7 separate regions of the Homo sapiens genome follow, and all the other regions are linked to region 7. Evidence: promoter capture Hi-C in human tissues and cell types (Jung and others, 2019). All regions are on one chromosome and are shown on one strand. The core of a region is centred on a gene start or on the middle of the fragment in contact, and the rest is flanking DNA. Distances in the headings are between cores, read along the strand shown. Region 1 overlaps COL1A1 (collagen type I alpha 1 chain). Region 2 overlaps SPAG9 (sperm associated antigen 9). Region 3 has its middle 14 kb from the start of TOB1. Region 4 has its middle 25 kb from the start of MIR8059. Region 5 has its middle 16 kb from the start of WFIKKN2. Region 6 overlaps PPP1R9B (protein phosphatase 1 regulatory subunit 9B). Region 7 holds the start of MYCBPAP (MYCBP associated protein).

Evidence for each region. The method cuts DNA at HindIII sites, captures the fragments that hold promoters and counts their contacts. A contact is called where the count stands out against the background at its distance.
Region 1: a contact is called between a fragment that was not itself captured here and the fragment with the promoter of MYCBPAP in region 7, in 1 of the 25 tissues and cell types used here (spleen).
Region 2: a fragment that was not itself captured here is called in contact with the fragment with the promoter of MYCBPAP in region 7 in 1 of the 25 tissues and cell types used here (dorsolateral prefrontal cortex).
Region 3: a fragment that was not itself captured here is called in contact with the fragment with the promoter of MYCBPAP in region 7 in 2 of the 25 tissues and cell types used here (mesendoderm cells and thymus).
Region 4: a contact is called between a fragment that was not itself captured here and the fragment with the promoter of MYCBPAP in region 7, in 3 of the 25 tissues and cell types used here (adrenal gland, bladder and heart right ventricle).
Region 5: a contact is called between a fragment that was not itself captured here and the fragment with the promoter of MYCBPAP in region 7, in 1 of the 25 tissues and cell types used here (aorta).
Region 6: a contact is called between a fragment that was not itself captured here and the fragment with the promoter of MYCBPAP in region 7, in 1 of the 25 tissues and cell types used here (H1 embryonic stem cells).

What each region holds. Positions count from the first base shown.
Region 1 is chr17:50,180,321-50,184,150 of GRCh38, reverse strand. It overlaps COL1A1 (collagen type I alpha 1 chain), which reads left to right. Exons shown (of 51, transcript NM_000088.4): 51 at 1-50. Among named protein-coding and RNA genes, the nearest start is that of SGCA, 16 kb to the right of the region's middle. RefSeq lists enhancers at 1,334-2,229, 2,689-2,983. The HindIII fragment of the contact is 5,023 bases long and covers 1-3,830 here.
Region 2 is chr17:50,964,404-50,968,690 of GRCh38, reverse strand. It overlaps SPAG9 (sperm associated antigen 9), which reads left to right. Exons shown (of 30, transcript NM_001130528.3): 30 at 2,304-4,287. The coding sequence ends at 2,419. Among named protein-coding and RNA genes, the nearest start is that of TOB1-AS1, 100 kb to the right of the region's middle. The HindIII fragment of the contact is 5,827 bases long and covers 1-4,287 here.
Region 3 is chr17:50,850,492-50,854,456 of GRCh38, reverse strand. No RefSeq gene overlaps it. Among named protein-coding and RNA genes, the nearest start is that of TOB1, 14 kb to the left of the region's middle. The HindIII fragment of the contact is 4,759 bases long and covers 1-3,863 here.
Region 4 is chr17:50,791,760-50,795,949 of GRCh38, reverse strand. No RefSeq gene overlaps it. Among named protein-coding and RNA genes, the nearest start is that of MIR8059, 25 kb to the right of the region's middle. The HindIII fragment of the contact is 8,529 bases long and covers 1-4,190 here.
Region 5 is chr17:50,817,153-50,821,174 of GRCh38, reverse strand. No RefSeq gene overlaps it. Among named protein-coding and RNA genes, the nearest start is that of WFIKKN2, 16 kb to the left of the region's middle. RefSeq lists enhancers at 1,826-1,885, 3,489-3,568. The HindIII fragment of the contact is 3,816 bases long and covers 98-3,913 here.
Region 6 is chr17:50,140,905-50,144,644 of GRCh38, reverse strand. It overlaps PPP1R9B (protein phosphatase 1 regulatory subunit 9B), which reads left to right. Exons shown (of 10, transcript NM_032595.5): 3 at 927-1,047; 4 at 3,272-3,376. Among named protein-coding and RNA genes, the nearest start is that of PPP1R9B, 7.9 kb to the left of the region's middle. The HindIII fragment of the contact is 8,211 bases long and covers 1-3,740 here.
Region 7 is chr17:50,505,488-50,509,688 of GRCh38, reverse strand. MYCBPAP (MYCBP associated protein) reads right to left here and starts at 1,250. Exons shown (of 19, transcript NM_032133.6): 1 at 939-1,250. The coding sequence starts at 1,014. RefSeq lists enhancers at 1,025-1,154, 1,175-1,234 and a silencer at 1,255-1,544. The HindIII fragment of the contact is 18,604 bases long and covers 1-4,201 here.

The DNA.
Region 1 (3,830 bases), core at 1,155-3,654, 330 kb after region 7:
GTTTTTAATTATTTTGATTGCTGGAATAAAGCATGTGGAAATGACCCAAACATAATCCGCAGTGGCCTCCTAATTTCCTTCTTTGGAGTTGGGGGAGGGGTAGACATGGGGAAGGGGCTTTGGGGTGATGGGCTTGCCTTCCATTCCTGCCCTTTCCCTCCCCACTATTCTCTTCTAGATCCCTCCATAACCCCACTCCCCTTTCTCTCACCCTTCTTATACCGCAAACCTTTCTACTTCCTCTTTCATTTTCTATTCTTGCAATTTCCTTGCACCTTTTCCAAATCCTCTTCTCCCCTGCAATACCATACAGGCAATCCACGTGCACAACACACACACACACTCTTCACATCTGGGGTTGTCCAAACCTCATACCCACTCCCCTTCAAGCCCATCCACTCTCCACCCCCTGGATGCCCTGCACTTGGTGGCGGTGGGATGCTCATGGATACTGGGAGGGTGAGGGGAGTGGAACCCGTGAGGAGGACCTGGGGGCCTCTCCTTGAACTGACATGAAGGGTCATCTGGCCTCTGCTCCCTTCTCACCCACGCTGACCTCCTGCCGAAGGAGCAACGCAACAGGAGAGGGGTCTGCTGAGCCTGGCGAGGGTCTGGGAGGGACCAGGAGGAAGGCGTGCTCCCTGCTCGCTGTCCTGGCCCTGGGGGAGTGAGGGAGACAGACACCTGGGAGAGCTGTGGGGAAGGCACTCGCACCGTGCTCTTGGGAAGGAAGGAGACCTGGCCCTGCTCACCACGGACTGGGTGCCTCGACCTCCTGAATCCCCAGAACACAACCCCCCTGGGCTGGGGTGGTCTGGGGAACCATCGTGCCCCCGCCTCCCGCCTACTCCTTTTTAAGCTTTTTCTTTCTTTCTTTCTTTTTTTTCTTAAATTCTTGCTTCCTCTTCCCCCCTCTTCTCCGTCCCTTCTCTTTCCCTTCACCTTCTGCCTGCTCCTTCCCAGAGGCCCTGAGAAGGCGAGGCCCGGAGGGAAGGTGACTGTTCGGCTCCCCCATCTCAGGTAAGGGGGACAGCGAGTGTGGTCAGCGGGGGACAGAGAATCCAGGGCGTCAGAAGTCCAGAGAGAACCAGGCACCCGGAGCCAGGGAGACAGCGAGACGACAGCTGGTCACCTCTCTCACCTCATCTCAGGTCTAAACCCAAAAAGAACAAAAAGCCCGCACTCCTCCCTAAGGTCTCCAGAGAGATGGACAAGTCTGTAGATACCATCCATCAGCAATACTAATATCGTGATGTCATTAAGTATTCATGGCCGTTCATTATGGCCTTCAATAATTCATCATTAGCACTTCTACCACACTTAGGACAGTGTAGAAAGGGAATCAGTGTAGAGAGGATAAGAATGATGGCATATAAATGAAGGCTTATTCATATGCAAATTACCCAAAGTTGTGTGATGCCTATCCATCTCTCTTTCTCTCTTTTTTTTGAGACAGAGTCTCACTCTGTCACCCAGGCTGGAGTGCGGTGGCGCAGTCTCAGCTCACTGCAACCTCCGCCTCCCAGGTTCAAGCAATTCTCATGCCTCAGCCTCCCAAGTAACTGGGATGACAGCCATGCACTACCACGCCCAGCTAATTTTTATATTTTTAGTAGAGTCAGGGTTTTACCATGTTAGCCAGCCTGGTCTCGAACTCCTGGCCTCAAGTGATCCACCTGCCTCAGCCTCTCAAAGTGCTGGGATTGCGGACATGAGCCACAGCACCAGGCTCCATCTCTTGATCAATGTGTTGATTGCTTGGTGATGCCTGCCATGCTGCCCAGGAAACCCTGTCCACTTGGACCTCTGGGACTTTAGGACCCTGGCTGTCCAGGCCACATCCCCATCTGCCCTCGTGGGGGACCCAGGGACATCCTGAGCCTGGCATCCAAGGCTCTACCTGGCCACTACCCACCTGCCCAGGCTCACTGTCCCCTCCCCTGCCCACATCTGTCACACCAACCAAAAAGGGTGGCCAACAGTTCTCACAAATGCACTGCATTTCCCCACTTCCAGGCCTTCTAGATGTCCTTTCTCTCTGCATGCTCAACACCCTACTGTCCGGGCCATGCTCAAATGTCTCATTCTCTTCCCATTCCCTTGCCCAACCCAGCCTGAGCTCAGCCCCTCTGAGTTTCCAAAGCTCTCCAGATCCACATAGCTCCCCTCGGTCCTTCATCCTAGGATTGTGGATGTGGTCATGTTTCCATCCTGTTATTCTCTCCAGACTAGAGGCCAGGTGTTGCAATGCAGGGCTAGGCAGAGTCTGTGCTTAGGTACTGGGGAGACTAAAGAGAGAGAGACTGAGCTAGAGAGGCCACCCATTAGGTGAGAGCATGGCGCTGTGTGTGCTTGGTGCACAGGAGTGAGCGAGTGTGAGAGGAAGAGCAAGTGGAAGGCCCATGGGGGAGCAGACAGCAACGGAGGGCGCAGGGCAGGGCTTTCTGCAGCAACAGACATGTCCTAGAGCTGCACCGCCCAGTGCGGTAGCCGCTAACCACATGCAGCTGTTGAGCATGTGAGATGCAGTTAGTGTGACTGAGGAATGCAGTTTCCACTTTTACTGAATTGCAATTAGTTTTACTAACTATATGTGGGATAAGGGTTACCATACGGGGCAGCAGAGCTGTAGGCAAAGGAGTGAATATGCCTCTTGTCACCTCTGTACAAATCTACATGTGGGTACGTGGGTGTGTGTGCACACGCGTGGGCATGTATGTGGACACACGCACTGTGGGTCAGGGCTGCAGCGGGGGCAGCCTTGTGTGGCAGTGCCCCATGGGCAGCTCTGAGCCTGCATCACGTGGTGTGGGGCCGGTGTGTGGTTTCAGTGTGTACAGGACAGGAGGGGAGGGGGACAAAGGGGCCATTGTGCCACATTCCCAACTCAAACCCTCCTTTCCGCTGACATCACAGCCGCCCTAAATACAGCCACCCAGACCCGCTCCCCGAGACCCTCACTATCTCCTGCAGGGTGTCACAGAGCCTGCCGCTCTGTCAGACTCACCTTTGTCTTCTCTGTGAGAAGGACCAGGCTCCTGATTTTTGGCTGATTTTTCAGTCAAGCCCAGATGGAAAATTCTAGAAAGGGAGGAGGCTTCATTTGGATTTTTAATTTCTGCTGCAATCTCAGAATCCTGGGTCCCTTTTGGGACCTAAGCCCCATCTCCTGGCAGGATTTTCTATCACCGGAATACAGTAGATTTTCCCTCCTTTTTTTTTTTTTTCCCCAGCACCTTAACTCTCAGCTTCCCAGACTTTCTCCAATGACAGAGCTGGGTGGGTGGAGGAGGAGAGGGGTTGCAAGAAAGCTTGCCGGCTGGGGTGAGGAGACTGTGTGTGGAGCAGGCGTGAGCGTGGGCCGCGTGGGAAAGAATGCGAGGCTGCCGTCAAGCCCAGCGTCCACACGAGGAGGCCTGCGATGGCGTCTGAGGGAGCAAGGTGAGTGCCACCAAGGGGTCTCTGTCTCCTGGGGGTGCCTGGTGATGAGAATGTGTCTCACTGTCTGTGCCCACCTACCTGTGCACAAATAAATGTATCTGTGTTCACAGGGGCCTATACACATGTATGTGTGTGGGTTGGGGTGGGCGGGCATCTGTGCATGATGAGGGCAGCTTCCCCACACGTATGGCAGTGAAAGCAACCCTGTGTGAACTGTGAGAACACATGGACTGTGGCATTTGGGACATATGTGTACATGGGCATGACAGAGGGCATAGGAGGGTCTGTCTGTGTGATATGGATGAATGGGGCGGGGGAGCAGAGAGGAGTGTGGGAAAAATTAGTGGGGGCTCGGTGTGGGAGGAGACCACTCTCCTGAAGTCCCCCAG
Region 2 (4,287 bases), core at 539-3,038, 460 kb before region 7:
GGCACAATCTTGGCTCACTGCAACCTCCACCTCCCGGTTTCAAGCAATTCTCATGCCTCAGCCTCCCGAGTAGCTGGGATTTCAGGCATGTGCCACCACGCCTGGTTAATTTTTGTATTTTTAGTAGAGACGGGGTTTCACCATGTTGGCCAGGCTGGTCTCGAACTCCTGGCCTCAAACAGTCCACCTGCCTCAGCCTCCCAAAGTGCTGGGATTACAGGCATGAGGCACCGCACCCAGCTTATTTGCTATAAATAAACTGATCCCTTGGACTCGCTTAAAATCTCAGTGCTTCAAAAAGTTCCCAGACATAAGGCAGTAGGCAGTTTGAGAGAATATAATAGTGTTGTAGATCAGTAACAAATACTTTAGATATGAATTCTGTAAAGGAATAAAAAAAAATTAGGGTCATTTAAATGACAATGTGACAAATGTGATTAGTGTCACCAATATCTGATGCAAAAAGTTTGTTGACACTTTTAAGAGGGGAAGGCTGTTAGTGTGAACTTTAGAAATTGATTCCAGGGATGTCAGCAGGAATGGAGTCATTTCAAAGTGTTTTGAATAATTGACTATTGTTGAATTCCCTTTTATGAGAGGAGTTGTTAGGGACTCCACTTGGCTGGGGTGATTTTTGTAACTTTGTGTTGGAGTGCAGTATGTCAGTTGGAACCGTACTGAGGAGTTTGTTAATAAAATCTCTATGTGGTTTTTCCATTTCCACTAAAAATTCCTTCCATTGTGGATCCTGAAAATAGAACAAAAATTGCTTAACCAGGTTTGGCAGTATCTCTAGTTATTTCCAGCCTGAAAAACAGACTTGTCTTTAGCATAGGCTAATTTTAATAGTGAATATACTGTTGTAAAAAATCAAATTTGATCTTTTTTGGGGGTCCATTTCCTTTTTCATTTCCTGTAATATTTTAACAGTGAGAAATTGATTCTAAAGTCCCATATTTTTAATGATTTAAACTTAAAACTTAGGCTGTAGAGACCCTAGCAGACAGGATAATTTTCTTACAAGTAAAATCTTCAGAACAACTCAGAAGAGAAATGGCGACAGCCTTTTGTCTCAGCCAGTTAATTTTTTTCATTGAAATTTTTTAAAATTTAAGAGCCAAACTTAATTTTTTTACCTTCTAACCACCTGGGTATGTTTCAGTTCAGAGATGGGAGTTTGAACTGAGTGTTCTCCTCTCTCTAGTTTGATATTGCTGTGAAAAGGCCATTACAGGGCTGGGTAAGGGAAAGTTTGGCCTGCAGAGAAAAATGCAGATATTTAGGGTTTTTTCTCTTCTGTTGTTTCTAGTCAACAGTATCAATATTTTCTTTTGTCCAGCTGAAATTCACATGGGGCACATTACAAAATTCTGTTAGATCAGTGGAATATATCTTTAGGTCCTGTGGTGTGTATGTTTTTAGGATTCTGCTGAAGAATCCATCCCACTAGACAACTTTTCACTGGGTTGTGCCAAAATAACCCTGCTCTGTGACAACAGATACAATTGATGCAAGCTTGTATCGAGAATTATGGTATGCCCTGCACTGGGTCTTATGGAGAGGAGTGTGGTGTACCCCAGACTGGGCCTTGGAAGCCAGTGTCTGATCAGGACACCATGGATCACATTCACTTAGCCGTGATGCAGAAGAACCTGTATCTTGGCTGCTACCCCAACCTCTTTGTTTCTCCTTTTCCATTATACACTGTTAATTTGTAACCTATCCTAAACTTGAAAATCATTGGAAGAAAAACCCAGTAGCTGGTGAATCTGCCATCTGCAGTGCTGCAGGCTAATTATTTTAATTTCCATATGCTTGTGTCAATTATCTTCAATTGGAGAACATTACACCTGTCATTGATAATTGTGAGTTATTTGGGTTTAGTTAGTTTGCTCTGTACCTGTGCTCACGCATTTTATAACACTATTCTCAGTTCTTAGTTTAAAATAAGTGACAGTAGACTCTTCATTTTGGATGAACACAGAATTGCCTTCTTAGCTTCCCATGTCTGGACCATCGGTATGCAGACATGTTGGGGTGGCTTTTTAACGTAGTATAGTGAACTGGATTTTATAAATACAGTCTGAAAAATGAATTAACCTTTTCTGAAGTCAAGCAGTGGCTTGGGTGAATATGGGTGAGGATTCTGACTCTTAGTATTTCTTCTACTATTTACTCTCCAGTGAAAGTCAGACAAGTTTTGGGCATCTTGTTCATGGACTAACCACGAGCATTACATCTGACTCACATCATTCTATATTTTATGTGTTCAGCCTAACTTGAGTCTTCTTATCATTCACTAGGTGATGAAGGTGGAGAATCAGAACTTCTTGGAGAGGATCTTCCACTTGAACCTTCTGTCACCAAAGCAGAAAGGAGTCACTTGATAGTGTGGCAAGTGATGTATGGCAATGAGTGAGCCCATGGGAAACAGGTGGAGATGGGGAAGCCGTCTCTTCTGCATGGTTTATTTTCCCTCTATCCTTTTATTTAATGCTCTTTTGTGAGATAAGTTTCACCACATAATGTGTGAGCATTTTTTCCTGTTAACTTTATATTACAAAATCCGTTCTACCATAACAATACAGAGGAACTAGCTGTGTTACTGCACCAGTGTTATAGGTAACTTCAGTATATTATGAACAAATCAAAGAATGTTTACTTCCTGCAAACTGGTGAATTATAGAAAGCAATCCAGATGTGGTTTACTCTGCCACAGTCTAATGTCATTCACTTCATTTGATGGGGTCACTTGTTAGCTGTCACTAATAATGGAATTAATGGGAAACACTTGATAAATGAAACTGTACCGTTAAATACAATAGCTGAGTTTTCCCCAGTGTATTGTAAAATTGACACACACTAATACAAGATGGATTATCAGGATGTATCTAAATGTCCCGAGAGGGTTAAAAGCTAACTGTAAATTACTTTAACTTTCACTTTCAAATCTGACAAATCTTGTTTATATGGTATATAAAACTTTGTTTTCATCAGATTTGGGGGGGTTTTATATTAAAGAAATTAAGACTACACTATTTAAATAAACGTTTCCTGTTTCTGACTTATTAGAGCTCTAAAGTTTATGAGGCCTACTTCTCTGAATATTCTGATGGGTTTTTTTTGAGACCAGTCTCATTTTCATACTGACATGTCTGAAAGATTTATTATTTATAAAGCTTAGGACATACTCTGGGAAGCTTAGAAGATACTTCAGCACTGGGAGGATTTTTTAAAGGAAATGTGTTTTGTATTTCTTGTACCAGAGAATGGTGATGTTGATTGAGTTTTTTCCATGTAAAAAATGTACTTGTTTGCCAAATGTTCCTAGATTGCTCTTAACCTGTTAATACAAGTAAAACTGTAGTGGGGATGGAGTCTGGCCTAAGTACAGAATGAGGGATTTAATTAGAAAAGTTATTTTCTTTTGTTCTGTATCAAACTGCAGAACAGCTATATACTTGGTATTTTGTACGTGAATAACGTTTTAGCTTTTGTGCCCTTTTGAGCTTGAAGGGTTATCCTCAAAGGGGAAAACTATGAAGGGGAAGAAGACAAACCTAAGATACCATAAAGTAAAGGTTGACATTACATATTTTCATTCACAATGCCCATTAAAAAAAAAAAATAGGTTGGGCATGGTGGCTCACGCCTGTAATCCCAACACTTTAGGAGGCTGAGGCAGATGGATTGCTTGAGCCCAGGAGTTCAAGACCAGCCTGGGCAACATGGCGAAACCCTGTCTCTACCAAAAAAAAAAAACAAAATAAATTAACCGGGTGTGGTGGCACATGCCTGTAGTCCCAGCTACTTGGGAGGCTGAGGTGGGAGGATGACCTGGGCCCAGGAGGTGGAGGTTGCAGTGAGCCTTGATAGCACCACTGCACTCCAGCCTGGGTGACGGAGCAAGACCCTGTCTCAAAACAGACAAACAAGCAAAAAATAGATTAAAGTCTGGATTTCACTGATTTTCTTGCTTAATAAGTTTTTTAAAACCACGATGCTGCAATTTTTTCCCTCTCAAGCTTCTTGAAAATGTGTGATTTACCCTTTTTTATCTATTACTCTAGGCAAAGCTAAATATGATTTTTTTTTTTTTTTTTGAGACGGAGTCTGGCTCTGTTGCCCAGGCTGGAATGCAGTGGTGCGATCTCAGCTCACTGCAACCTCCACCTCTCAGGTTCAAGTAGTTCTCCTGCCTCAGCCTCCCAAGTAGCTGGGATTACAGGTGTGTGCCACCCTGCCCAGCTAATTTTTGTATTTTTAGTAGAGACAGGGTTTCACCAC
Region 3 (3,965 bases), core at 235-2,734, 340 kb before region 7:
CCTGCCATTCTAAAGTTTTGTGGAGCCCTGGTGACTTACTTTATTCTAATTTCTTTTTATTTCCAGAAAACATGATAGGAATCTCTTAAACCATTTTAATACAAGGTTTAAGATAGCTGCAATCTTTGCAGTCAACCTTTCTAGAAACTAAGGTGTCACCAGAGGCTCTTTAACTAAAGACTTTGAGAACAAACAGTTTTCACACAGCTATAAAAGATTTTTACCTGGGGAAATTCTTCTTTGTGAATCTTGAAAAAGGCTGGAAGAAAGGAAGGAAACTTTTTTTTGGTAACTTAGAAAGAAGATTCTTGTTTATTTTCTGAACCACTAAAGTTCAAAGAACTTTTTGGGTTCTGTGTAAAAGGAATAGAGAGATGGAGGTGAGAGCTTATCTCCCCAGGAGCATCTGCCAAAGGAGAAGGGTCTGGCAGCCGGCAAGGGACCAGGGTGTTATGTCTTCTATCTGCCTTTGCTTCCAGGGCCTGGGAAAGGTGGAAAGGACAGTAAAGGAGAGAGCTTATGCATACACTGCCTGACAACTTGCCCTGGAGATCAGTTTCCTCGGAAGGAGGCTTTGCAGAAGTTCTGACACCGCCATTTCCCAAAGATTGTGCGCGTGTTTTTTTCCCAGATTTTCAAGGAGGATGGGGAACTGCTCCTACGTAAAGCACTGCCTATTTGAAGGATGATTTTTATACTATCACAAAGTCTTATGGAATCCAGAGGGAATGACCAACCCCAAAAGCTCAGTAGTAATAATGGCAACCCTTATATGAATTTACTATGTGCTAGATACTGCCCCATTTAAATTCAGTTCAACTTCATAACAACCCTCTGAAGGTTGTACTGTTTCTCCCATTTACAGATATATAAGTGGAGGCAGAGAGCTTGCAACAGTCACAGCCAGCGGAGCTAGGATTTGAACTGTGGGATTCTGTTTCCAAAGTCCATGATCCTTAACCATTACACTATCCTGCTCCCTTGGTTGACCTCAACCGGTCGATTTTATAAAAAGAGCCCCACCTGATTATTTAGAAGTCATCTAAGCTGCACTTTGTGCCCAGTCCCCCTCTCCTGCAAACCTCACTTGTGATTGTTTGCTCAGCAATCCCAAACTTATTTTGCTATCAGCCTTTGCCAGGCACAATTAGGAAAGGGAAATCGGTTGCAAAAACACAATGGAGTAAGATATGAGTTTGAGGGCTACGTGCTAGCTTTACTTACTTACATTGCGACTGCTCTCTGGATGATTAGATTTGTTGAGAAGCAACTATAGGCACTTCACATACTGAAGTCTTGGGTCCTGAGCTTTACTAGTACTTGTGATAGCAAAAGGGTGATGTTGACTCAAGTGGCTGCCCTGGGCTCAGATTCCATTCTTGTCCCTAAATTCTTTCTCAAACAAGGTGAGATATGATTAAAAACAGCTCCTGTATTCATCCACTCAACACATTTATTAAGCATCTCCTGCGTTAGGAACTGGCAGTGATATATACAATCCTTCGGAACCTCTAAAGGAGCTTACATTCTAGCAAACGATAACACACACGCCCAAATAATCATAATACACAGGAAAATGTAGGGGTATGAACAAAAAAGGGTGAGACTGTGCCTATCTTAGGGATGCTAGATCTGGGGGGAGATATCCAGCTATGAAGAATGGGTACAATGTCCACTGGAAGCACCCGGGGAAGCCTGGGCTCCCTCAAATTCCCAGCTCCAGTGGAGGAACAGGCAGTTGAGAGGAAAACCTTGGTCCTGGTGTGTGTGTGTGTGTGTGTGTGTGTGTGTGTGTGTGTGTGTTCTTCATCAGATGTAGCCACAGTAGGAAGAATGTGTGCTGCTAACCCTTGGGGAAAAAGGCAGAGGAAATCAGAAATAGAAGCTCTGCTGCCAGCCCATCTCTCCTGGGAGAACCTGCCTTTGAATTTGAACATTTTAACTTATTTTTTCACTGTTTCAAGCTTTGTACAGAAACATTATGAAAGAGAAATAGTTTAAAACTTCTTTATTCATCAAACCCAGGAGTGAGATGGGGAGGACCAGTAAGAAGTCCAAGGAAAGAAAAGGTGGGACTGAGAGGGGCGTCAGGCTGTGTCAGAGGGATGTCGAATTCCTTCCTTTTAAGACAGTTTCAGTTTCATGCTTAATCTAGAAACTTCCTCAGGCTAGAAGCTCCCTCTAGGGGTCATCTCATTTGTTTTCCTACCTTTAGTGACAAAGCCTCTTTTGGTTTTGTGATGTCAGGGCTCACAGCAGGTACTACCCCTCCAGAAGTTGGTGTTGGTGGAAAGTGCGTGTTCATTGCACAAACTCAGACACCCCCAGGTCACTCCCAGTTGCCACTCCCATCGCCACACCCTACCCCTGGCCAAGGCAACAAGTCTGTGGAGCTCTGCAGTTTCCTTTTCCAGTTTGGCTTTTTGGGTGCTTGTAATATCTTCCGGTTTGAACATAAATCAAAGAATGAGGCTTTGAAGGGAAAGCTTTGTATAAATTTCAGCCAGAAATTAACATTCCCAAATAACTTTTCGCCTGGGTCACTTCCCCGGGCAATGCCCTTCCCCAGGCTTCCCTAAGTTCTCTTGGTGGCTGAGCACTCTGTCATCCACTGAAAATACCACCACAAGCTGGCCAAACTCCTTCATGTGACCTGGGACTGTTCAGAGAGCATCACTATTCTGTACAGAGTGTGGATCCTGCTTTGGCACAGAAGACACCAGCGTCTGATCCTTGTCTCACACTCACTTGACCAGCGGGGACACATGTTTAGGCCCCACAATTTCCCCTGCAGATGTAAGAATGCTCTAGAGTGGTGTAGGGGGCTTCATTCAGCCTCCAAATAACATTACTCCTCGTGATCCTCTATGAGAAAGAACGTGGGCTTTGGGGTCAGACTTTTTTTTTTCCTTTTTTTTTTTTTTCTGAGACAGAGTCTTGCTCTATCACCCAGGCCGGAGTGCAGTGGCGCAATATCGGCTCACTGCAACCTCTGCTTCCTGAGTTGAAGGGATTCTCCTACCTCAGCCTCCTGAGTAGCTGGGATTACAGGTGCCCAGCCCCAAGCCCGGCTAATTTTTTTGTATTTTTAGTAGAGACGGGGTTTCACCATATTGGCCAGGCTGGTCTCAAACTTCAGACCTCAGGTGATCCGCTGCCTCGGCCTCCCAAAATGCTGGGATTACAGGTGTGAGCCACCACGCCTGGCCTGGGGTCAGACTTTGAATCAAATCTCAAACTCAACCTTAAATAGCAGTGCACTGTTAAAACGATTCCACCTCAGATTTCCTAACTGTAAAAGGGTTCCAAATTCTACTTGTTAGGGTTGGTGTGATGAGCATGTAAGATAAATAAAGCATTCAGCATAATCCTCTTCCCTACATAGAATAACCTGCACTCTCTTTACTCTGTGGTGAGAGAGGGCTCAAATCCTCCACCTCTCCCCGCACGGCTTAGCCTCAAGGGCATGTGCTCAGCCTATTTAGGGGAGGTCAGCTGGCTATAAACGTGCCTTTTCATGAGAATCCTAGGAAGTAAAACTTCCTGGTATATTAGCAGGGAGAAGGGAGGACACAAAAATGAGACGAAACCAGACTTGACTGTTCTTGAATCTGTGGTGGAAAATATCACACATGCGGTTAAGTACGTGGCCTTTGGAGTCATATAGACACGCCTAGGTTTGGTTCCCTGCTTGGCCAGGGACTTTGGGAAAATTATTCAATCTCCCTGAGCCTCAGTTTCATTATCTCTGAAATGGACAGGTTATTAAATGGAGGTGAAAAATATACACATCACAGGGTTGTAAATATTTAATGAGATAATGCATGTTGAACACATATTAAGTGCTGTAAGCTATTAGTAATGGAAATTATTAACCCTACCAAAAGGGCATCTAATTGGTAAAGGGTGCCCACCTTCTATGAGGTCTGGGACAGGGATGGGTTACCATCCGTGTAAGTCTCACT
Region 4 (4,190 bases), core at 1,189-3,688, 290 kb before region 7:
GGCTGGAATGCAGTGGTGTGATCTCAGCTCATTGCAACCTCCGCCTCCCAGGTTCAAGCAATTCTCCTGCCTCAGCCTCCTGAGTAGCTGGAATTACAGGCACACACCATGACACCTGGCTAGTTTTTGTATTTTCAGTAGAGATGGGGTTTCACCATGTTGGCCAGGCTGGTCTCAAACTCCTGACCTCAAGTGATCCACCTGCCTTGGCCTCCTAAAGTGCTGAGATTACAGACGTGAGCCATCATGCCTGGCCACCACATTCCTTTTCTTCCAGAAGGCCACTCTGCCCTCATCCTCCTCTTGCTTCCTTCTCAGTCTCCTTTGTGCCACCTCCGTGTCAGCCGCTCTTTAATGAGGTGTCCCCAGGGTCCTGCCTCAGTTCTCTTCCTGCCTCTCCCTGCTCTGGTTGCTCTGCTCCCATGGCTTCAACTCTAGTTAAGGTGACACCAGCTGCTATTACAGGCAAACACCAAGGTTTCAGTGGCTTAATGTAATAGAAGTGTATTTCTTCATAGGAAATCCAGTTGGCCTGAGTTCCACAAAGTCACAAAAGTTTTTTTTTGTTTGTTTTTTGAGACAGAGTCTTGCTCTGTCACCCACCCAGACTGGAGTGCAGTGGTGCAATCACTGCTCACTGCAGCCTCAACCCCCTGGACTCAAGCAATCCTCCCACCTCAGCCTCCCAAGTAGCTGGAACTACAGATGTGAGCCACTGTGCCCAGCTAGTTTTTTATTTTATTTATTTATTTATTTATTTATTTATTTATTTATTTATTTATTTTTTAGATGGAGTCTCATCACACTGTTGCCCGGGCTGGAGGGCAATGGTGCGATCTCGGCTCACTGCAACTTCCGCCTCCTGGGTTCAAGCGATTCTCCTGCCTCAGCCTCCCGAGTAGCTGGGATTATGGGCGCCTGCCACCACGCCCAGCTAATTTTTTGTATTTTTTAGTGGAGACAGGGTTTCACTGTGTTGGCCAGGCTGGTCTCGAACTCCTGACCTTGTGATCTGCCTGCCTCAGCCTCCCAAAGTGCTGGGATTACAGGCGTGAGCCATCACGACTGGCCCAGTTTTTAAATTCTTTGTAGAGATGGTGTCTCACTATGTTGCCCAGGCTGGTCTCAAACTCCTGGGTTCAAGTGATCCAGCTGCTTCAGCCTTCCACAGTGCTGGGATTACTGGTGTAAGCCACCATGCCCTGCCCCCTGCCATCTTTGACACATGGCTTCCTCATTGGCCTTGGACATCTGTATCCAGTCAGCAGCCTGGAGAGAACAAGGAGAATGGTTTGGAAGGTTGTGTGGGTTTTTATGATAGACAAGTACCTCACTTCCACCCACCTTCCACTGGCCCGAACTCCGCCCATGGCCACATCTAACGCAATGAAAGTCGGGAATGTGATCTAGCAGTTCATCTGGCAGTAGAGGGGCTGGCGTTCGATATAGCTTAGATGTTTGGCCCCTCCAAATCTCATGTTGAAATATGAGCCCCAGTGTTAGGAGTGGGCCTGGTGGGAGGTGTTTGCATCATAGGGGTGGATCCCTCAGGAATGGCTTGGTGCCCTCCCCATGGTAATGAGTGAGCTCTCAATCTATTAGTTCATGTGGGTGCTTTGTTTTTGTCTGTTTTTTTTTTTTGAGACAGGGTCTCACTCTGTCATCCACGCTGGAGTGCAGTGGTGCAATCACGGCTCACTGAAACTTCCACCTCCCAGGCTCAAGTGATTCTCTCACCTCAGCCTCCTGAGCAGGCCCACACCGCCACACCTGGCTAATTTTTTTTTTTTTTTTTTTTTTTTTTTTGAGACAGAGTCTCACTCTGTCACCTAGGCTGGAGTGCAGTGGCACAGTTTTGGCTCACTACAACTTCTGCCTCCTGGGTTCAAGTGATTTTCATGCCTCACCCTCCTGAGTATCTGGCACTACAGGTGCCTGCCACCATGCCCAGCTAATTTTTGTATTTTTAGTAGAGACAAGGTTTTACCATGTTGGCCAGGCTGGCCTTGAACTCCTGGCCTCAAGTGATCTGCCCACCTCGGCCCTCCAAAGTGCTGGGATTACAGGTGTGAGCCACGGCGCCCAGCCTGATTTTTTTTTTAGAGATGGCGTCTTGCTATGTTGCCCAGACTGGTCTCAAACTTCTGGCCTGAAGCAATCCTCCTACCTTGGCCACAGTGCTGGGATTACAGGTGTGAGCCACTGCACCCGGCCTGGTTATTTAAAGGAGCCTGGCATCGTTCTGGCCATGTGGCGTGCCTGCTCCCCCTTGTCCTGTGGCCCTGAGTAGAAGCTTCCTGGGGCCTTCCCCAGATGCAGGTGCTGGTATCATGCTTCCTGTACTGCCTGAAGAACCATGAGCCAAACACCCCTCTTTCTTTATAAATTACCAGCCTCAGTTTCCTTTACAGCAATGCAAAATGGACTAAGACAGCGTTCGTAAGCCTCTAGCCAGTCTCTGCCATGGGTTGCCCAATAGCCACTAAGTAGCCATTTCACTCTTCCTCTTACACATGGAACACACTCACTGCTTCCCGGAGAGGCAGCTGAGTCCACACCATCACTGCCTCCTGGGGCCTCCGCCACAGTTCGGGATCTCCAGCACACACAGGATTCTCTCCTCCAGGTCCTCTGTGACTCCCTGTGATCTGGAAACCGATGCCTAAAAGAACAAGTTATCGTGTCCTTCCTTTCTCCACCCCAGTATAGACACACAACACACTTCCGGATCCAGTGGTGGGGTGCAGATAGGGCAAGCACAGGACAACATCCTCTTCAGAGAAGGGAAGAACAGAAGATGCAAAGCAGGCTCTGATGACAGCGATGATGCCATTTGGCCAGGTGGGTGCTGGGAGCGCCCCCACCCTTGAAGGAATTGCCCTGTCCTCTTCTCTATGGCTCCCAGCCCTGCCCTCCACACTGTCGTCTTGCCATGTTGCTCCAAGGCCGCATTCGCAGCGACCGTTGAGGGGTAGACCCTCCCGGGTTGCTGCTCATCTTTTGTAGCCTGCAGCTCCTTCGGGTAAAAGTTTTAAGATCTCAAAGTGGTTTTGTTTTGTTTTGTTTTGTTTTGAGACGAAGTTTCGCTCTGTCGCCCAGCCTGGAGTGCAATGGCGCAATCTCAGCTCACCACAACTTCCACCTCCCGGGTTCAAGCGATTCTCCTGCCTCAGCCTCCCAACTAGCTGGGATTACAGGCATGCGCCACCATGCTCAGTTAACTGTGTGTGTGTGTGTGTGTGTGTGTGTGTATTTAGTAGAGATGGGGTTTTACCATGTTGGTAAGGCTGGTCTCGAACTCCTGACCTCAGGTGATCCACATGCCTCAGCCTCTCAAAGTGCTGGGATTATAGGCGTCAGCCACCACATCCAGCCTCAAGGTGGTTTTAAGGCCCAAAAGTTCAAACACTTTCTCTCTTTTTTATTTGTTTATTTTTTGAAGTTCAGGCTTATGGCTTATTTGACATACAGTTCCCTGAAAATCTGAAAAGGCTCCTCTACTTGCTTCCAGTCATTTCTGGATGCCAGCAACCACGTGCGAAATTCACAGTTAGACACAGTTCTCCAGCCTGATTCTTCTGCTGTCCGCCCTCCGGCCATTCTCTCTCGATGTGCTGATGGCAATCTTGAGGTTCTCAGGCCTGGGGAAGGACACTCCCTGACTCTGACCTTGCCTGAGGTTGAGGCTTCATGGGCCTTTGCTGCTCAAAGGCCTTTAAGCTATGATTTCCTTCTGTTTGGCATCTAGAAGCCGTCAATGTTCCTAACCAATACCCCAAATTCCGGGAGTCCCTATTTCATCTTAGTTTTGCTTGCAAATCAGCCAGTGCTCACTGGTCCCATCTTATTCTTCTGAGACCTTGTTAAGTGCTGCCTGTACTTTATGACTTCTTCCCTTAGAGCTACAGGGTCAGAGGACAGCTGACCTGTTTATCTCAGGCAACTATTTTACCAAATGTTTTGCCGTTGCCTAGCATGGGTCTCCATCTTTCCAAACCCTGACAAAGGTTTTCTCACTATCTTGCCCAACTACAAAACCAATGCCACACATTTTCGATTTTCATTATGGCAATATCCCGCTCCTAGTACTAATTCTATCTTAGTTAAAGTAACACTAACTTATGGAAGAGATACCCCACCCCCAAATTTCAGTTGCTAAACACAATACAGGTTTATTTCTTACTCCATAA
Region 5 (4,022 bases), core at 756-3,255, 310 kb before region 7:
TTGCCATCTGTAGGCAGCTTGGGTTAGTCAGCTCAATTAGACCCACTACTTTGTCACTAGGACAGAGGGTTTTCTGTATCCCAGGGTTTCTTGCCTTGGTGTACCAGAAGAATCAGATCACACGTGGGCTTGGAGAATGAGTGCAAGGTTTTATTGAGTGGAAGTAGCTCTCAGCAGATGGGGGAGCCAGAAGGGAGATGGTTTTCCTCTGGAGTTGGGCCGCTTGGTGTCCCAGGCTCTCCTCCAACTGCCCCAGCCAAACTCTGCGTCCTTCTGCTGGTCAGTGGCCTGCTGGCATGCCGATGCCGGTGCCAGTGCGTTCCTCTTGACATCCAGCCGCCTGTGTGTCCCACCGCCAATATACTCCTCTAGATGTCCAGCCGCTTCTGTCTCTGCCCTGCTAGGGTCTCGGGTTTTTATAGGCACAGGATGGGGGTGTGGCAGGACAGGGTGGTCTTGGGAAATGCAACATTTGGGTGCAAAAGCAGGAGTGCCTGTCCTAACCTAGGTCCACGAGGGTGGAGCCCTCGCCAGGGAGCACAACCTTCCTCTACCCAACATTTCCCTTGCGCTGTTCCGTATCATTTAAAGGGACCACGCTCTTCCCTTCCCAGCGTTTCCATATCAAAAGCAGAAGAACCCATGACTGTCCGCATTTGGGCCAAGTGAGCATGAAATAGTTGAGGGATAGAAAGCTACTGCACATTTCATGGTGGAATGATTGGGGGCACTGCTGGGTACAGAGGATGGGCAGAAAATGGGCCAGGCTCATTCATCGGGAGCCACCAGGAGGACTTTCTGCCAGTGAGGAGCCGGGGGGAAGGCGCTTCTCTCCCTAAGTCCAGCAGTCAGACACCATGGTAGATGGCAGGAGAGGTGCTTCCCAAAGTTTGGAGAGGCTCTGTTCCTAACTCTGAGTCAGCAGAAGGAAAACAGGAGGGAATTGGAGGATAAAGAGGGGGCCCATGCAAGGGAGCCAGCCCCTTTGTGCCTGCAGGGCACAGGGCAGGTACAACCTGCCCACTGTGGCCTCAGGTACATGAGGATCAGAAAGGCAAAGACCCCACCACTGAGGGTAGAAGGTGTTAGGGTGCTGGAGTGAGGGCTCAATGCCCGAGTATCCCCTTCCCTCTGGGGTTTCTCAGGGAGGGAGTCATCTTGGTGCCTGAGCCCTGCCCCCAATGCAGAGACCCTTAGTATAGTAGACCCTGATGAACCCTGGGGCTTAGGCTTAGGCCAGGCTTCAACCTTCCAGCTTCCTTCCCCAAGGGTCCTGCCACAGGTGGAGAAGATGGGCCAGAAAGAAAGGGTGGCCAGCCCCTACACTCCCCCAGCTAACTCATCACTGGGACAGTGCCTCCAGGTCTGGCTGCCACGAGGGAGACGTGAAAGAAAGAGAGGACGTAGAGAGAGGCCTCTATCAAGGCCACGTGCCTCTGAAAATCCAGTCACCGCATTCATGAGTAAATTCTGAGTGATGGATGTTCTTGACCCCCACCAAGTAAAATGAGCCACCCTGCCCCCACCACACCCTCTCCACCTTCCACCCTGTTACAACTGAGGAGGTGTCCCTCCTATTTAAGGTCAATGCTGCCAACAATGTGTTGGATCCCAACACTTCCCTTTCTTTCCACCTCCTTAGGAACTTTATACCATCAATTACGCCTTCTGTCTCCCAAATACCTGCCACCTTTATACACATTCATGTCTCTCTTATCCTCAACAGATCATTACATCATTCCTTCCACCCCGTATTCCCCCTCCATGAACAGCCCTGCCTCTTTCTACCTTCCAAGTCAGTCCGCATCCTGGCTCCATTTTCTCACCTCCCAAGTCCCTGAACTCATTCTCCTGAACTCTGTGATCCAGCCTCCCACACGTTACTTTGCTGACAAGCCTGCTGCTAAAGTCACCTGCTGCTAAAGTCACCTGCTGCTAGTGACTACCATGGCCCTAAATGACACAACCAGTCCTCGTTTTCTTGCCTTTCTGCAGCTTGTGACCTGTTGACCACATCCTCCTTCCTGACCACTCTCCCCCTACATCTGTGTTGTGACCTTTTTTCTCCTGGCTTTCTACCCACTTCCCTGGTAGCTTCTTCTTCATCTCCTTTACAGAAGCTTCCCCTTCCACCCAGACATTGCACCCTAGCCCCAAACAGTTAATATATCAGTTGCCAGAGTGGTTGCCATGTGTGGTAGATTTAAGAAGCTCCTAGGTGGCCAGGCGTGTAGTGACTCATGCCTGTAATCCCAGCACTTTGGGAGGCCAAGGTGGGTGGATCACTTGAGGTCAGGAGTTCGAGACCAGCCTGGCCAACATGGTGAAATGCCATCTCCACTAAAAATAACAAAAATTAGCCAGGTGTGGTGGCACATGACTGTAATCCCAGCTACTCGGGAGGCTGAGGCAGGAGAATCGCTTGAACCCAAGAGGCAGAGGTTACAGTGAGCCGAGATCATGCCACTGTACTCCAGCCTGGGCGACAGAACAAGACTCCGTCTCAAAAAAAATAATAAAAATAAAAATAAAAAATTAAAAAAAAACTCCCAGGTGATTTTTACTTGCAGCCAGGGTTTCGAGCCACTGCCTTCAAAGTTGTATCTGCAGCTCCTGGAACACCGAAAGACAACTCTGTTCCCCAGAAGGCATCCACCCAGATCCAGTGATTCCTTCTCCATTTGCATATGAGCCATTCCGGAGACTGACACAGAAGTTATGCAGGGCCTTCCCCTATCCGTAAATAATCTGAATACATCTTTCCATAGTGGACTAATTAGGGAAGTAGTTCTCTTTGAGACCTTAGTCATATATCTAGAAACAAACTTATATTTTTATCTCTTGAATCATGAATTTTAAAGAAAATCTAGAATGCTAAAATGCCTATGCCCAAATTATGATGTTTTGGTTCAGTTCTCTGCTTCCCTCCGCCCCCCACCAGAATTGTCACTGCTCTCTGCTTTCTGACTTCCTGTCCCCGGGGAATTTTCCTGCTCATCCTGCTAGTCTCCACTGAGAAATCACCTCTTCCTGGTGATTCCCCAAATTCGAGCCAGGTAAGCCAGGCATCCACTTCTGTGATCCCACCCTGAGCTGATCGTAGCGTTTTGCTTTTCCTAGCATTCATCACATTGGAATGTATTGACACGCCTCCCCAGCCAGACCTCAAGGCAGGAACCGTGTCTTATTCACCAAGGTATATCTGGTGCCTGGCATAGGGCGTTCTATAAAGTTCTATTGAACTAATGAATGAATGAATATTTTTCAGGTGTAAACATAGAATAAGCCATTTCTCTGTGGTTGGTTCACCTGAATGGATTGATTAAAAGGAGAGATGAGCCCGCAAGCAAGACGGTGCAGCGTAGAAGGCAGAAGCCTGATGTCTGCAGATCGTGAACTTGAAGGAGGGCCGTGTGGAGTCCCAAGCCTGGGCATGAGAATCACCTGGAGGCCTCATGGACTCTGTCCTGGTCCCACTGGGATCATGTCCAGGAATTTGCCTTTTCACACGCTCCCTGGGTGGTTATGAGGCGGCCAGTACAGCACTAGCTGCATCCCAAAATTGGGGAGCCGTCCAGACTCCCCAAGGGCAAGTAATCCTCACTCAAATATGTGTGAAGTAAACCGAGGAAGAAGACACCGCAGCAAGGTGGAAATTCACAAGCAGCCCAAGTAGGAGAAATTCACAAGCAGCCCTGGTAGGAGAAAGGCCCCTGGAACCCGACTTGTCTCAGCGCCCCCTGCTGGGGGGAGCCCCGCGTGGGCTCAACCCGTGTTGCTGACCGCGGCACCGTGGGGCACGGAGCCCTCACCCTCCCCTGACCGAGGAGGGGACCTCCTGTCTCCGCGGGGAGGTTTGAAGAAGCTGCCTGAGGCATAAAGAATGTGGGGCTGTAGGGCAGAAAGCTCGGACGCTGGATAATCTCACCCGTAATGACCCCGTGGCTGTCAGCCCTACAGCACTCACCTCAAGCCTTCACCACGGTGTGGGAAACCACAGATGGGGTTGACAGATGATTCAG
Region 6 (3,740 bases), core at 398-2,897, 370 kb after region 7:
CAGGGAAGTGAAGCTTGAGTTGCACTCTGGTGAGGAGGAATTAGGGGAGTAGTCAGGAAAGGGGCTTGGCTGCATTTGCATAGGGAGGGCAAGAAGAGCATGCAAATGAGGCCTTGCAGACCACGTGGTCTTGTTGCTAAGATGGATTGGGAGCCATTTCGAAGCACAGGAAAGGTCTAGAAAGACCACACCAGGCTGTGATGTAGGGAGGGGGTCACAAGTGGATGGAGAAAGGCCACTGTGGCGTGGACAGGAAGATGGCAGAGCGGGTGTGGGTGGACTGGAAAGATCTCCAGGGGTAGAATCCATAGCATCTGGGGGTCATTTGGCTCAGGTGGAGGCTGTGAGTGGGAGGGAGGAATCCAGGTGCCTCCCAGGTCTGGCAGGTGGCAGGTGGTGGTACCATCCCCCATGAGGGAGTGTTTGTGGGGGAAGGTCATTAGTTGGGACATCAGAGGGCCATGAGTCAGGCAGGGGCAGGTGTGGATAGGGGAATGGACCTCAGGGGAGAGAAAATCTGGAGGTCTTTGGTCCTTGAAGCTATGAGTACAGATGAGACTGGCTGAGAGGGAGAAGACCAAAGGCTTAGGGCTGAGTCCCATCCTGGCTACCCCCATCCTGGCTACCCCCATCCTGGCCACACGCCCTGGTCTGCATATGCAACAGTCTTACCTGCCTGTGCCACCCTTGGCACGCTCTTCTGCCCATTGGTTCTTTGGAAGGGACAAAGGGCAGGGAGCGGCTCAGGAGCCATCCTAGTAGACTTGGCAAAGACGGTGGACAGAACTATATCCCTTCTTCAGTTGTGGGACATCCCCTAATGGGGACTGCTTCCTGATGGGGGGGCTGTGCCCTGGAATTCGGGGTGGAGAGTCTCTCGTCTGTCCCCTACAAGCCCTGCCATCTCACCACTCTCTGTTCCACAGACTCCGAGGGCCTGGGCATCAGCATCATCGGCATGGGCGCCGGGGCAGACATGGGCCTGGAGAAGCTGGGTATCTTCGTCAAGACCGTGACGGAGGGTGGTGCGGCCCATCGGGATGGCAGGTACCAATCCTCCCCAGTCTCGCCTGACCCTTTTTCCCTCTCCGACCGGCCATCCTTGGTGGGGTGGGCCACTGAGCAGGGGGTGGGGCGGGCCTTCCCTGGGAGATTTCCGTGCTGTGTGTGCAGCTGAGATGTTCGGGGAGCACTGCCATGCCAGGTGCTGTTCCAGGCCCCAGAAATACAACAGTGAGCACTGTCAGCCCCTATGCCCTGAAGGAGCGTGTGTTCTCCAGGAGGGGCTGGTGACCATGGGGGCTATAGGCGTGTGTTGTGCATCCCGGTCTGGAGTACAGTTTGGGCCCTGGTAGGGAGAAGACAGGCATGGAGTATATTTGAGCTTTTTTTTCGCTGGACATTGAGTCTCTGACAGTGTTGGGCCGGTGCTGGGCCCTGGGAAGTCAATGGTGAGGGCCTGGCGCACTTGAGAAGTGTGCAGTGTGGTGTGAGGTAGACATTGAATAAATGGACACACAAAAGGTAGTGAAATGGAGGGAAATGCAGACTGCTGTGAAGGCATACAACAGGAGGGTTTAATCTCTCTGGGCATTAGGGAAGGCTTCCTGGAGGAAGCAGTGCTGGAGCTGAGAGCTAAGGCTGGAGCAGGAGTTAGCTGTGCTGAGGGAGTGAGTGCAGAGGTTCCAGGCAGTGGCGCCATGAGCAGGCAGGTGTGGCTGGGGCATAGAGAGCAGGGGCCAGGAGGCTGTGACTAGACCCATTGATGGCAGTGGCTCTGGAGACAGGCTGTCTTTGCGCATGTGAGTGTGTGTGCCTGTATTGAGCATCTGTGGTTGCAAGGGGTGAGTTCTGTGGGACAGAAGGTTCAGGGAGGGCATCCTGGAGCTGTGTGCCAGCCAGGGACCCCTGTGTTAGCTGTGTATTCCAGGGGTGTGGGGAGTGGCAGTAGGAAGGGCTGTAGGGCATCCCCCAGGGTGGCTGTAAGTTAGAGGTGACATTGGGGATCTCTTGTGGTGGTACCTCCAAACCCAGACCCCCTCCATGTGACAGAGGTGAGCAGGTGTCCTTTGGGATCTGGGTGACTTTGGGATCTTGTTTCTAGAGATGGGGCTGCCCTGTCAAGGGGCTTCTACCTGTTGTGGCCCAGGTGGCATGGAGAGGGGCCGGGAACAGGATACCCTTTCATTTACCCCTTCCCCTCCCAATGTGAACTTCCAGAGCCTTTCCCATTGTTGCCTGTGGGTTGTCTAAGGAGTGAGTGTGCATGGTGGCCGTGGCCACTCACTCATGCCCACCTGGGAGTGGCATGTGTTGGGGTGAGCTGTTGACAATAGGCCATTTCCTCCATTTCCGTGTGGGAGTCCTGAGAGAAGGCCTGGAGCTCCCAGGGAGGTGGAGTGGAGGAGGGAGGTGTCTGAGAGGCCCCCCACCCTCCATCTCCCTCAGCAGGCCAGACTGAACCTCCCCTTGTATGGAGAACACGGGCTTCAGGGGACACAACTGGAGTGTGTCGGCAGGTGCACCTGTATCAGGTGTGTGTGGGACAGTGTGTGAACTCGAGAGAGTGCCATTCGGTCTTGGGGACTTGGGAGGACATCTGTGCACTCAGTTCTGTGCAGAAATGTACACGTAAGAGGGTGGCATGTCACTTGTGTGCTGTGGGGCTCCTGGCCAGTGTGCATGGCAGAGATGAACTCTGAGAATGTCACACCGCTCAGTCAAGTATGATGAAGGAGGGGACAAGAGTGTGATTGTCACAGGAAGTGTGCCTGCCGCGTCTCCTGGTCCTGGACGCCTGTGTCTGCTTTGCTTGCCTGGCTCTCACTGCCCACACAGGTGGGCCTGGCTGACACTTAATCCTCTGGCCTTGTGAATGTTACGCAGGTAGACAAAGTACCAGGTCCCTGTGAGGACAAAGTATCTGTGAGGTTTTTTGTTGTTGTTTTCTTTTCTTGTTTTTTTTTGTTTTTTTTTTTTTTTGAGGCAGGGTCTTACTCTGTTGCCCAGGCTGGAGTGCAGTGGCGCAAACACAGCTCACTGCAGCCTTGACCTCCCTGGCTCAAGTGATCCTCCCACTTCATCCTCCCAAGTAACTGGGACTACAGGCACGTGCCACCATGCCCAGCTAATTTTTCTTTTTATTGTTTGTAGAGATGAGTTCTCACTATGTACTCAGGCTGGGGAGCCTGGAGTTTCTGATGGGAGGAGGCTACCTCTACCCTCGCTCCTCGGTTCCCCTGTGACCCCTTAACCAATGTCACTCCGCTAGGATCCAGGTGAATGATCTCCTGGTGGAGGTGGATGGAACAAGTCTGGTGGGAGTGACCCAGAGCTTCGCGGCGTCTGTGCTCCGGAACACCAAGGGCCGAGTGCGGTGAGAGCCCAGAGGGGTGGGGCGTGGGAGCGGGCAGGAGGTCCTCGTCCAGGCACTCCGTTCACCTGCCTTAACAGCCAGTTAAGGTTCTGGTGGCCCAGCTCACAGAGGTTCTGCTGACTCCTTGGCTGCAGGAGTTGCTGTGCCTGGAGTCCCTCGCCTCACACCTGCCTTCTCATCCCAGCTCCCTGGCAACAGCTGGCCACCAGTACTCAGCCTTCCTGGCCCACTGTCCACCAGCCCTCCAAACTGTCCTCTAGGGCTTCTTCTCCTTCCCCCTACCTGTCCCTGACTCACTGACTGAAGAACCAGGACGTCCAGGGTGAATGCTAACCATATTGGGGTCCCCTCATTGGGACCTCAT
Region 7 (4,201 bases), core at 1-2,500:
CGCAGTGGTCCATGCCTGGAATCCTAGCAGTCTGTGAGGCCGAGGCAGGAGGATCGCTTGAGGCCAAGAATTTGACACTAGCTGGGGCAACACAGCGAGAGCCCTGTTTACAAACACACACACACACACACACACACACACACACACACACAGAAAAAAAAAGCTAAAAATTAAATTTAAAAATAAATAAATGGAAACAGCCAAAAAAGATCAAAAGGGGGTGGGTTGCAAGTGAGAACATGTCCATGGAAGTCAGTCCGCTATCAGACGCCCTGTGGCTCTCCCAGGTGCAACCAGAAGAAAGCTGTAGAGGGTAGGAAGCAGTCATATCTAGCGATTCTTTCCAGGCTAAAGGAGCTGGATAAGTGTCATCCAGCTGGAAAGTGCACGTGGTAGGAAAAGGCAGTCAAAAAGAGAACTAGCCAAGCAAGGCCTTTCTTCTGGGTTTTTCCAGCAGGAATCCTAAGTGACGCCTGCCCCGCTCCCCGACCCTCCTCTACCAAATAATCCCATCAAGGTGGCTGGTTTCAACACTTCATTCTTTCCTCTTCCCAAGGACCCCAATTCCTGGCCCTTCTACCCTTAAACTCTTTCCTGGCTCTTCTGCACTTCATCCAGTCCGGGGATCCTGCCTCCTGCATGCCACCCTAAGATGTGGTTAGAGGTAGCGCAAGGCCATCTCCCCAGCCAGTGGTCCCTGAGGCCCCTCTGTCAGTCTCCCACTTCCTATGTCCCCATCCCCAAGGCCCAGTGCGCTGTAGGCTCTTCCTGCCTTGCCCCCCATCCCTAAGGGTCCTATGCCCAGTACCCCACTTCCCCGTGATCTTTCCTCCATCCCTGGTGCCATCCCCATCCTCCAGGCCCCGTGTCCTGAACTCTTTCCGGGGACCGCTTCCCCTCTCGGGTTCTCCCGAGCGCCCAAGGCAGCCAGCGCCAACCTTTGACATTCTCTGAGGCCTCTAATAATCTGGTCGGAGTTATTCTGAGGCGGGAATCCTTCTTTAGAGACTTCATGGTGCCGCCCGGCACCATGAAACGTTGCCCTGCACCGCCGGCCCAGAGACACCGAGGCTGCGCCGCACCCGCCAGCCAACGGCCGCCACTGCGTCCACAGCAACCGGTGCCCCGCGCGGGGGCGCGCATCCACCGATCAACTTGGGCGGAGACGGCTTGGAAACCTCCTTCTTCATCGGGCCGCGCACGCGCCCGCCGCCGGCGGCTTCAAGAGCGACGGACCCCTAGAAAGCCCTGCGGGCCCGGCCTGTGACGCCACAGGCGGCGCCGACGAGCGCCGTGACGTCACCAGCCGGGCGGGGCGGGGCGGGGGACCCGGGCGAGGACCCCCGCGAGTTGCGGGAGCCGAGGGCTGGGTGGGAGTGGCTGGCTGGTAGGGGTGCATGACCCGCCTCGCCCCGCCCTGCTGCTAGGCCACGGGGGGCGGGTGGGGCGTCGGGGGTGCCAGCCCCTGCTTCCCGCCTTCCTCGACTAAGGCCACATCCTGTCGAGGGACCTCCCTCTGCCCCCCTCACAGCGGTTCTGGGGGGGGATCGGGCCTTTCAGGACGTGCTGAAACCCCTTCGTGGCGTACCGTAGGTTTTAGGTGTCCCTGCCTGCCGTCCCCAACTCGCACCAACGCGCCTGGAGACCTCCCGGGTCCACGCTCGCTGCAGCCACTTTGGCCTTTCATCACTTCCCAAACCAGCCAAAACTTTTGCCCTGACTTGGGGCATTCTCACAGTCCTTGGAGATGCTGCCTCTGATTATTTTAAGTTTATAAACGCACCCGCTTTTTTCGCCTTCCCCTGGAGCCCTGAGGCATTCTGGGATTATTTCGGTTTTTTGTGTAGTTGCCTATTGTCAAACTGGCTCTCAGAATGTATGAGAGCAGGAGCTGCCTCAGGCCCTGCCCCCAACCCAAAGTTTAGCACTAGTAGTCAGGCAGTAAATTGTACCTCAAATAGTGAAGGGGTTCTAGAGCCAGACAATTGGGTTCTAATCCCAGCTATGTCGGCTTGTTAGCTGTGTGTTCTTGAGCCAATGCCTTGACCTAGAGAGCCGGTTTTCTCTGCTGGGCACAGTGGTTCAGGCCTACAATCCTAGTGCTTTAGAAGGCTGAGGCAGGAGGATTGGTTGAGGCCAGGAGTTCAAAATTGACCTGAGCAACGTAGGGAGACTCCATTCTAAAAAAAAAAAAAAATTTTTTTTTTTTTTTTTTTGAGACGGAGTCTTGCTCTGTGCCCAAGCTGGAGTGTAGTGGTGCCATCTCGGCTCACTGCAACCTCTGCCTCCCAGGTTCAAGCGATTCTCCTGCCTCAGCCTCCTGAGTAGCTGGGATTACAGACGAGTGCCACCATGCCTGGCTAAGTTTTGTATTTTTAGTAGAGATGGGGTTTCACCAGTTGGTCAGGCTGGTCTCGAACTCCTGACCTCGTGATCTGCCCGCCTCGGCCTCCCAAAGTGCTAGGATTACAGGCGTGAGCCACCGTGCCTAGCCTAAAAAAATTTTTTTTTAATTAGCTGGCTTTGGTGGCCCACACCTGTAGTCTTAGCTACTCTGGAGGCTAAGGCAGGAAGATTGCTTGAGCCCAGGAGGTCCAGGCTGCAGTGAGCTCTGATTGCACCACTGTACTCCAGCCTGGGCAACAAAGTGAGATCCCCATCTCATACATCCATACATACATATATACATACATAAAATGGAGGTCATAATGCTGCTCTCACAAGGCCACTGCCAGGGTTAAATGAATATGTATGTATTTCTTTTTCTTAGCGAGTATCTCACTCTGTTGCCCAGGTTGGAGTGCAGTGGCACAATCATAGCTCACTGCAGCTTCAAACTCCTGAGCTTAAATGATCCTGCTGCCTTAGCCTTCCGAGTAGCTGGGACTACAGGCATGTGCCACTGCACCCAGCTAATTATTAAATTTTTTGTAGAGACAGGGTCTTGCTATGTTGTTCAGGCTGGTCTTGAACTCGTGGGCTTAAGCGATCCTCCCGCCTTGGCCTCTCAAAGTGTTGGGATTACAAGCATGAGCCACCTCACCTGGCCTGAGTGTGCATTTAAACTACGAAACAGGGTGCCCTCCATAAACTGTAGTATCTTCTCAGTCAATTCTCAAAATCATGCTGGGGTTGAAGGGAGGGGACACATTATAAGCCCATTTTACAAACGGAGAAACTGAGCTCCAGAGAGAAGGGTGTAATGTCACCTGACTAGCGGGAAGCACAAATTGAACCTGGTTTTCTAAAGTCCAAGGCCAGGGCTCTTTGAACCCTGTCTCCTGGGACATTTCTGAGTTTGCAAGAGCTGCCCCAGACAGCGGAGGAGCTAGAGACGATGCCAGCAGTGCTGGTGAATCCCTGAGTTCCCTGTGTGTTGCCCGTTGCTGGGTCCTGCTCCAGGGCCATGGCCCCTTCTTCACACTGCTCTAGACCTTGCTCTCCTTATGACTGAGGCATCCTCCACGGACAGCCCCTCTCCTGCTCTCCGAGGCCCAGGCTCTGGCTTCCCTCTACCCTCTAGAGAATCCCCAGTTCCGTTTACTTCGCGACTGAGCACTTATGATCCAGCAGGCTAGGTGCTGTGCCATGTGGGTCCTCCAGGAAGCAAGCACTGAGATGAACATAGGACCGCAAGAGGTTTATTGCGGAGAGAGGGGGTAGTGGCAAGGCCGGTGAGGGAGAGGAAGCAGGAAAGGGCTGGGAGAGCCTCAGACTGTGCTGCAGATCTAACAAAGTCTTGGCCAACCCAGCATGTCCTCTGGGCAAAGAATGTTTGTTAGAAGTTGTCAGCTAACTGCCCTCCTTGAGGGTGAATGGCAAGTTCTTTCTTGAAGGGAGACAGGAATGGCTCACCTCCGTGGCTGTCCCAGAAGCTCTGTAAGATATGGAGGAAAATAAGAAACATTTCCTCTTGCCCTCTAGGAGCTCAGAGTCCACTCTAGAGCAAAAGACAAACGCTCATGAAACTCTAATCCGTGCACCCAGTTTCAGGAAGAAGGCCTTTTAACTTTGGGAAGTTACACAGCTTGTGGGTGGCATGTTTGGGAGCAGGACAGAGGCTTGGGGATTGTGACGGGAGGGTTTGGTGACCAAAGGACAAGGGAAGAAGCAGGTAGGGGAGTATGTGGTCAGGCAGGCATGCAACCTGGCTGGGCTCTGCCACCAGCCCCTGAGTGACCTTGGACAGGTCTCACCCCCT